2 separate regions of the Homo sapiens genome follow, and region 2 is linked to region 1. Evidence: promoter capture Hi-C in 16 types of primary human blood cells and fetal thymus (Javierre and others, 2016). All regions are on one chromosome and are shown on one strand. Each heading gives the region's core, a stretch centred on a gene start or on the middle of the fragment in contact. The rest is flanking DNA. Distances are from core to core; before and after follow the strand shown. Region 1 overlaps LSM1 (LSM1 homolog, mRNA degradation associated). Region 2 holds the start of ASH2L (ASH2 like, histone lysine methyltransferase complex subunit).

Region 1 (4,795 bases), core at 1,433-3,932:
CCCCTGTAAAACTTCTGCAGCATCCAAACCATAACATATTTTTTTAAAAAAGGGAACTTTTCCTCACAAAAGGGATCCAAGGAAACAATTAAACTTCAAGAACAAACACGTTCACCTCTTTCTCTGCACAAACACACACATCTACTTAGATGTAACTTTGTGCCAATGTAACCAGTATAAAAAGCATGTCTGCTATGTTTACTACTATAAAACAGAAGCATATCTGTGAATATTTTCTTGAGAAAGGGTCTTGCTCTGTTACCCAGGTTGGAGTGCAGTGGTACAATCATGGCTCACTGTAGCCTCGACCTCCCTGAGCTCAGGTGAATCTCCCACCTCAGCCTCCCAAGTAGCTGGGACTGGTGATGTGCACCATCACCCCTGGCTAATTTTTGTATTTTTTTGTAAAGACAGGGTTTGGCCATGTTGCCCAGGCTGGTCTCTTGCAGCTTAAGCGATCTGCCTGCCTCGGCCTCCCAAAGTACTGGGATTACAGACGTGAGCCACTGCACCCACCCCAGTATTTTAACTTAAGTTTTTTCCTCTGATACGTTGCCTCTTCAAAATTAAATTCAGAAAAGTATTTTTAAAAATCATCTATAACCCCACCATGCAGAGATGGGTCAGCTCCCCTATATACTGGCAGTATCAAGCACAGTGGCATGTACCTATAGTCCCGGCTACTTGGGAGGCTGAGACAGGAGGATTGCCTAAGCCTAGGAGTTTGAATCTAGCCTGGGCAACATAGTGAGACCCCATCTCTGGAAGAAAAAAAATACTGGCAGACTACTTTACAGTCATGTAGTGTCTCCCCATGGGTACCATGGTACTAGGTGCTTTCAGACTTTTTTTTTTTTTTGAGACGGAATCTTGCTCTGTCGCCCAGGCTGGAGTGCACTGGCACGATCTCGACTCACTGCAAGCTCCGCCTCCTGGGTTCATGCCATTCTCCTACCTCAGCCTCCCAAGTAGCTGGGACTACAGGCGCCCGCCACCACACCCGGCTAACTTTTTTGTATTTTAATAGGGATGGGGTTTCACTGTGTTAGCCAGGATGGTCTCGATCTCCTGACCTTGTGATCCGCCCGCCTCAGCCTCCCGAAGTGCTGGGATTACAGGCGTGAGGCACCGCACCTGGCCTTGTTTCAGCCTTTATGCGACACAAGAAGATAACAATTTCTGCTGCTTGGCTGGGCGCGGTGGCTCATGCCTGTAATCCCAGCACACTGGGAGGCCGAGGCGGGTAGATCGCCTGAGGTCAGGAGTTCGAGACCAGCCTGGCCAACATAGTGAAACCCCGTCTCTACTAAAAATACAAAAATTAGCTGGGCTTGGTTGCGGGCACCTGTAATCCCAGCTACTCGGGAGGCTGAGGCAGGAGAATCACTTGAACCTGGGAGGCGGAAGTTGCAGTGAGCTGAGATCATGCCATTGCACTCCAGCCTGGGCAACAGGAGCAAAACTCTGTCCCAAAAAAAAAAAAAAACCCAAAAAACAAAAAACAATTTCTGCTGCTTAAACATGCAAGAAATGATACACTGAACTAAAAGTACAAACTACAAAAATATTTTATAAGAAAAATTTTTATAAGTATTACTTATAAATATTTTATAAGTAAGAAAAAGCTATTTCATATATTTCACAGCATATATTTCATATATTCATATATTTCATATACTTCATATATTTCACTTGGGCAGTATTGATAGTCTGGATTAGTCATTTCTAGCTATTTCCAATATGAGGTCTCTGAACCAACCCAACCCTAGCAGAATTATCTCCTTGCTTTCTCAAATGGCTGTTAAAAATGGCTACAAACCAAACCACTCTAAAGATTTCTGCAAACTGATTTAAGACATGGCTAGGTATTTAGAAAACAGTATTAAAAACTTTAAAAATTAAGCAAACACCAAAGTTTTTGGTAAGAAAAAAGAAGACAGTGCTGGCTCAACCCTTAATTTCAACTACTCTTGAAGAGATTTTTATTTTCCTTGCAAACCCAATAATCAGAAATAACAAGATGAAATCAAAGGTTTTAAATAAGATACTTTAAAAAAAAATCTGAGTACTTCTAGTAGGGGTGTGTGTGTGTATGTCTGCACACACGAAGACCTACAGCAACAATACCTCAGAAAATCTGATTTAACCTTTCACCTGCCAGCTGGTCTTTCTGGCACAGATACCAAAATACCCTCTCCCTGGCTGTGAGCTAAGGATCCAAGTAAGACTGAACTCCATTCTCGGGATAGGTAACGGAAAAGCTTTTCCTATAGCTACTCTTTCCCTTTCCCCCTTTACTAATATGGATATCACATTGTACTGTACAGGCAATATGTACTTCCCTGAAATACTGTGCATTAGCTTTATGCCATGAAAAACCACTTGTAACCAATTGTTTAAATGACTGCAAAATATTCCAACGTATGTAAGACACACCTTCCCCAGCATATATAAATCAAGCTTTGTCAATTTTCTGCTATTAAACAAATATATTAATGAACACATTTGTTAAGGCACTGAAACAAAGTATTCTCTGTAGCTTCCCTAAATTAATTTGGTAGTTGCCTAGGAGAAGCCAGATAAATGTGGAGAATATTTTTATTCTCTTTTGAAAAGACAAAAAAAGAAGTCTAACTAGCATGAATATGAAGATCTACAGCAGCTTAATAGTTTTCACTTACTATTTCTCCTAGTAGGACCACATTTTCTCCTCTGACCACAAAAATCCCTCGAGGAATATCACCGTATTTTTTGCCCACATGAATACGCTCCACAGTCTGATGTAGCACTAAGTTTGCTGTAAGTGTATAGGGAAAAACCAAAGATATTTAGTTTAAACTACTGGGTAAAGGCCCATAACTCAATAATCAGTTATTTTGAAAAGATTTAGGTAAACATGATTTCCAAGCTTTCTAATTATTTTTATTTATTTATTTTTTGAGACCGAGTCTCGCTCTGTCACCCAGGCTGGACTGCAGTGGCGCCATCTCAGCTCACTGCAACCTCTGCCTACTGGTTCAAGCAATTCTCCTGCCTCAGATTCCGGAGTAGCTGGGACTACAGGTGCCTGCCACCACTCCCGGCTAATTCTGTATTTTTAGCAGAGACAGGGATCACCACATTGGCCAGGCTGGTCTTGAACTCCTGGCCTTGTGATCCGCCCACCTCGGCCTTCCAAAGTGCTGGGATTACAGGCGTGAGCCACAGTGCCGGGCCCCCAAGCTTTCTAATTCTGGGGAAGGCTAAAATTTCAAATAATCTTCTCCTATTTCATTGAGTAAGACGTACCAGTTAGGAGATGTCTGGGATTATGTTGGGCTAATACATGAATGACAGCAGAAATAAGAGAAATAAATTCCTTTATCAGTTAATTGCTAATACCAAAAAAAACCATAGGAAAATATAAATGAATAAGGAACTTGGAAAACTTGGGCCTAAACAACCACAGAGATCAAAACTTTTGTTTTCTGGAAAGAAACAGCTTTTCTTTTTGTGTGGGTGTGTATGTGATGATCTGCTGAAGATTCAACTTTCTTTTAGTAATTAGGATTCATTTGACCCAACGCAGGTATCCATGGGTTATGATACAGCAAAAACCTATTTTTTCACCTTGACAGATAACTATATTTGTAATCTAAAAGTCAACTTAATAGCCACTACCCTTCCCTCAAAGTACTCTGATGAATCTGACTTAAGAATCAGGACTCCAATTTGTTAACAATAATTATTTTTCCTCTTTCAATTAGTACTACTTGTCCTATTTGAAGTAAAGGAGAAATCTATGTTCATATCTTCCATAATCCTTTTAAGTGTTTTAATTACGTTTCTTCCTCATGCTCAAATCCAGTGATTTCGCAGATATCCAATAAATGTTAGCATGAACATGAAGTTCCTTGAAACAGAAGGAAACATAATCTTTTAACTTAAGAAAAATGCAGGATGCGAAACAAAGACAGAGGCCTCTTATTCCAATGTATCCCTATATGTAAAGTATTAAGCTTAATGTTGGGGTCCTTAAAATAAAGGAAATGCCTTCTACCCAATTTTCATTGGCTAGGGAGGGATTACCTTCACTTCCGGAACTGCTTTGAAGTCATTTTACCCTGCCAATGTAGAAATAAGCAGCCTTGGGCCGGGCACAATGGCTCGCGCCTATAATCTCAGCACTATGGGAGCTAAGACCAGCCTTCCAGCTGTCCCCACTGATGCACCAGACATGTGAGTGAAGCTCCTTCAAACCAGCTGACTCACCTTCTAGACACCAAGGGACTGTCCTAAAACCATGAGGAGCAGAACAACTGCCCAGCTCAGCTGGGTGGGTGGATCACCTAAGGTCAGGAGTTTGAAACCAGCCTGGCCAACATGGCGAAACCCCGTCTCTACTAAAAATACAAAAATTAGCTGGGGGTGGTGGCTGGAGCCTATAATCTCAGCTACTTGGGAGGCTGAGGCACAAGAATCACTTGAACCCAAGAGGCGGAGGTTGCAGTGAGCCAAGATTGTGCCACTGCACTCCAGCCTGGGTGACCGAGAGCGCGTCTAAACAAAAAACAAAACAAAACAAAACAAGCCTCTTCGGTGGACTGAGTTTATTTCTATCATTTGGCTCCCCCTACTGGGGATTCTACTGAAAGCCAGTTTTAGAAACGAGCTTGGAAATATATATAAGCTTTGAACCACCTAATCTGAATGTATAGAAAACAATGATGTACTCACTAAAATCAGTCCTACTAGGTCACACACGTGAAAAAGTTGCAGATAAATTTCAATATTAAATAACAAAAAATGCAATGGG
Region 2 (4,795 bases), core at 898-3,397, 64 kb before region 1:
AGCAGTGGCTCACGCCTGTAATCCCAGCACTTTGGGAGGCCGAGGCAGCGGATCACAAGGTCAGGAGATTGAGACCATCCTGGCTAAAAAACGGCAAAAACCCTGTCTCTATTAAAAATACAAAAAATTAGCTGGGCGCGGTGGCGGGCGCCTGTAGTCCCAGCTACTCGGGAGGCTGAGGCAGGAGAATGGTGTGAACCCGGGAGGTGGAGCTTGCAGTGAGCGGAGATTGCACCACTGCACTCCAGCCTGGGCGACAGAGCAACACTCCGTCTCAAAAAGAAAAAAAAAAAAAAGAATATTAGCTGGGCGTGGTGGCTCGTGCCTATAGTCCCTGCTACTCAGGAGGCTAAGGCAGGAGGATTGCTTTACCCGGGGAACTTGAGGCGGCAGTGAGGTATGATGCCGCCACTGCTGCACTCCAGCCTGAGCGACAGTGCGAGACTCTGTCTCAGAAAAAAAAAAAAAAAACACACAGGTGAAACCCCGTCTCTACTAAAGATACAAAAATTAGCCAGGCGTCATGGCGCGTGCCTGTAATCCCAGCAACTCGGGAGGCTGAGGCAAGAGAATCGCTTGAACCCGAAACCGCGAGGTGGAGGTTGCAGTGAGCTGAGATCGCGCTACTGCACTCAGCCTGGGCGACAAACCGAGACTCCGTTTCAAAAAAAAAAAAAAAAAGCCGTGCGCGGTGGCTCACACCTGTAATCCCAGCACTTTGGGAGGCCCAGGTGGGTGGATCACTTGAGGTCAGGAGATCGACACCAGCCTGGCCAACATGGTGAAACCCCGCCTCTACTAACAAAAATTAGCCGGGCGTGGTGACAGATACCTGTAATCTCAGCTACTCGGGAGGCTGAGGTAGGAGAATCGCTTGAACCTGGGGTGGAGGTTGCAGTGAGCCGTGATCGGGCCACTGCGCTCCAGCCTGGGCGACAGAGCGAGACTCTGTCTCAAACAAACAACAACAAGAAAACACAAAATTCTGCGACCATATGTTAAAACTGCTACAATACTACGTATTTGGGAGGAGATACTTAGATCAAGCATCCTGCTTCTCTTTGGAGTACCAACCCCTGATTTAAGTATTTATCATCAATTTTAAAAATGTAACCTGGCAACTCAGTTAGGTCTTTCTTCAATTTTGTTGAAAACCAATAATTGAGAACCAATTGGGAAATCAATATCTACGTATTTCCCATGGCGTCCAGTGGCCCAGAGATTCCTACACTATCGGTGGACACATCACAGTAAGATTAGACTGAGGATTGGCGAGGGGTGCGCCGTTCTTGTGTAAAGCGGGAGAAGAGTGTATTATCGTTAGGCAACATTTTAGGATATAGGATAAACACTGGTGTCCTGAAAACGTTCCTGGCCGCAACACTCTCAGAGGTTTGCATTCTCGAGTTTGGAGACCATGGCTCTGAAAGACTCAACTCACTCCACTGATGCCAGCCACCAGCTACTGTTGATGACTTCCCAAGTTCGTACTTTCAGTCCACACCTCTTCCTTTCGCTGGGCACCAAACTTGTCTACATTCCGAGTGCCCCGGCACACCCCGGGGCTTCGCTTTCCGCCTCTCACAGTAGGAAGCGGCGAGCCGCTTCTAGTGCCCACGCCGCTCCTCGGCTGCCCGGCCTGGGTTTTCCACCCTCGCCCCTGGAATCGGCCTCCCTAGATTCCCTTCCCTCTTAAAATCATTTGGAAACGGGCTCCAAGGGGCGACCCTGCGCAGAAAACCAAATTCCATCCGGGGCGGGCAGGGAGTGCTAGACTCCAAGGAAGACGTTTCCCACATTCGGTGGTGAGGAGTGTTTGGCGGCACGGCACGGCCAGCGCTCTCAAGGACCCTCTTCTGCGCAGAATATCCAGTCGTAGCCACGAAAATACGCCGCGTCAGTCCCTGACTCGAAAGGAAGTCCTCCAGAGAGCCGCACTAACCATCTAGCTTCCTCCACCTTCAGCCTGCCAGGCCCGCGGCCACCGCCGGCGCGGGAGGCCGGCCCACCTCTGCCCGCGCGCCTGGCCTTAAAGCGGTCGTGGAATTATGCTTCCTCAGGCAGGCGGTGGACGCACCGCGGGCTTTTTCTGTTTGAAGACTACAGCGTCACACAGCAACGCGCGCGAGAGAAGAGAGTATTCTCGCGAGAAGTCCAGGGGTGGCCGTGATGGCGGCGGCAGGAGCAGGACCTGGCCAGGAAGCGGGTGCCGGGCCTGGCCCAGGAGCGGTCGCAAATGCAACAGGGGCAGAAGAGGGGGAGATGAAGCCGGTGGCAGCGGGAGCAGCCGCTCCTCCTGGAGAGGGGATCTCTGCTGCTCCGACAGTTGAGCCCAGTTCCGGGGAGGCTGAAGGCGGGTAAGAGGTCCTGCCGCCCGAGGAAGACGCGGGAGGGAGGCCCGCCCCTCGCGAATCCCGCGGCTCCTGGAGCCCTGCCGCCCGCCCCCTGCGAACCCAGGCCCCGCCGCCAATGGCTCGCCCTGCCTCTGCGCCGCTTGGCCCGTCCCCTCTCAAGCATATCTCGGATAACGCCCCTTCCGCACCTTTCACGGGCGGTGGGAGCTGAGGCTCCTGTCGTTATCTCTGATCCTTGCACCCTGGCAGGAAGCTGGTAGCTCACACTTTAACGGGAGGCCTTCACATATTCCAGAAAAGAAACCACTTTGCAGTGCCAGACTGGAAGAAGTAACGGTCACTCTGAAAACAGGGTGGGAGAGCTGCCTCTCTTTGAACCTCTCCCAGGACCAACTCTAACCCAGGTAGATTTGACTGTAAAGGCCGGTTAGGCTTCCCTGTGCTCCGTGGGTCCGCGACTGTCTGACATGTCCACCTTCTCAGTATCCTGACAGTACCTTGGGCATCCAGTCTGAGATCAGGCTTAGCTGAAAAAGCTGCAGGAGTATGAAGTTCGGCTGTAATTTGATCATCATTTTTGGGAATAGGCATTTTGAGGTTTGTCTTGAGAATTCTTACTTGAGCGCTTTCATTATCTTATAGGGAGGCAAACTTGGTCGATGTAAGCGGTGGCTTGGAGACAGAATCATCTAATGGAAAAGATACACTAGTAAGTATTTTTAGTTGTTTGCAAGACAAAATAGGGTTTGTTTTAGTTATTTCTTCTTCTTCTTTTTTTTTTTTTTTTGTTGCGACGGAGCCTTGCTCTGTCGCCCAGGCTGGAATGCAGTGGCGCGATCTCGGCTCACTGCAACCTCCTCCCCCCGGGTTCCAGCGATTCTCCTGCCTCAGCCTCCCGAGTATCTGGGATTACAGGCATCTGCCAACACACCTGGCTTCTTTTTTTTGTCTTTTTAGTAGAGACGGGGTTTCACCATGTTGGCCAGGCTGGTCTCGAACTCCTAACCTCAGTTGATTCTCCCGCCTCAGCCTCCCAGAGTGTTGGGATTACAGGCGTGAGCCACCGCGCCCGGCCTTGTTTTTACATTTTTAAGCGAATCAAAAATACATTCAGGCCAGGCACGGTGGCTCATGCCTGTAATCCCAGCACTTTGGGAGGCTGAGACCTCAGGATCACTTGAGACCAGCCTGGGCAACATAGGGAGACCCCCGTCTCTTAAAAAAATAAAATAAAGTAAAATACATTCAAGTCAACTGATTTGAGTCTCGAACTGCTCTGACACAGGAAGGTGCTGGGGATACATCAGAGGTGATGGATACTCAGGCGGGCTCCGTGGATGAAGAGAATGGCCGACAGTTGGGTGAGGTAGAGCTGCAATGTGGGATTTGTACAAAATGGTTCACGGCTGACACATTTGGCATAGATACCTCGTGAGTACTTTTCATAGTTTTTGTGAGAATTGCTCGGTAAAATAAATCTGAACATGCTCAACAGTTACTTTGTGGGCAAAATAAATGCAAAGTATTTCCTATGTCTCCTAACCCCTATTCAGCAAGTAGGATGTTGAATCAGGAGTTGTTTTAATTCCCTTAGCATGTTATCTGCTTACTGAGGGCACAGCTCTGGTAGATACAATGGTGGGTATTGCCCCTCCTTTTGAGTTGACAACCTGGTTTGGAGACAAAAAAAAATGCAATTACAAAGTGTTATATAAACAAATTTAGAACAATATAAACCTTGTGTTGGTGTTTTGGATTTTTCAGAAAGGATATATGTGGATAAAGCCTGTTGTCCAAAATTTGAGATGACCCATGCTCTTTATGCCTGAACCATCCTTTTTTTCCTTTCTCATTGCTGCTGACTCACTCCTTTAGGTATATTGTCTACTCTCCTCAGCAAACCTATTTCCAATCATGTACCTCTTCTAGTGAATTAAAATCATATTGTGATTGAGAATGAAAGACTTTTTTCCTTATACTGACTGTCTGTTGGAATAATTGTACTGCTCGCTCTCTGTAATGTTCTTTATGGTTTGTATTATGCTAATACATTTATAAAAGACTATCTAAACATAAGGCTGCATTATCGTGAAATTAATCCACCTTGGGTGAGATTGTGAAGAAATACATATATGTGTGTGTGTGTGTGTGTGTGTGTGTGTGTGTGTGTATATGTATATATATATACATATATATATGTTTTCTTGTTTTTTTCTTGCGACTGGGTCTCGCTCTGCTGCCCAGGCTGGAGTGCAATGGCAGGATCACAGCTTTCTGCAGCCTCGAACTTCTGAGCTCAAGGGATCCTCCTGCCTCACCCTTCCAAAGTGTTGGGATTACTGGCATGAGCCACCACACCCAGCTTTCCTTTATAATCTGTTGTATACTTTCTAGTTAAAAGGTTAAAGTGGGTTTTAGAAATGCTGATGTCTTAATTAACA

Evidence for each region. Contacts are between HindIII fragments. The CHiCAGO score rates a contact against its expected background, and 5 or more counts as called.
Region 2: a contact is called between the fragment with the promoter of ASH2L here and a fragment that was not itself captured in region 1, in 3 of 17 cell types (erythroblasts, megakaryocytes and naive CD4 T cells). The highest score is 8.7, in erythroblasts.

Annotation. Positions count from the first base shown.
Region 1 is chr8:38,167,121-38,171,915 of GRCh38, forward strand. It overlaps LSM1 (LSM1 homolog, mRNA degradation associated), which reads right to left. Exons shown (of 4, transcript NM_014462.3): 3 at 2,682-2,797. Among named protein-coding and RNA genes, the nearest start is that of LSM1, 7.0 kb to the right of the region's middle. The HindIII fragment of the contact is 448 bases long and covers 2,459-2,906 here.
Region 2 is chr8:38,103,382-38,108,176 of GRCh38, forward strand. ASH2L (ASH2 like, histone lysine methyltransferase complex subunit) reads left to right here and starts at 2,148. Exons shown (of 16, transcript NM_004674.5): 1 at 2,148-2,357; 2 at 2,997-3,063; 3 at 3,640-3,785. The coding sequence starts at 2,170. RefSeq lists silencers at 1,916-2,005, 2,336-2,535 and an enhancer at 2,116-2,245. The HindIII fragment of the contact is 22,171 bases long and covers 1-4,795 here.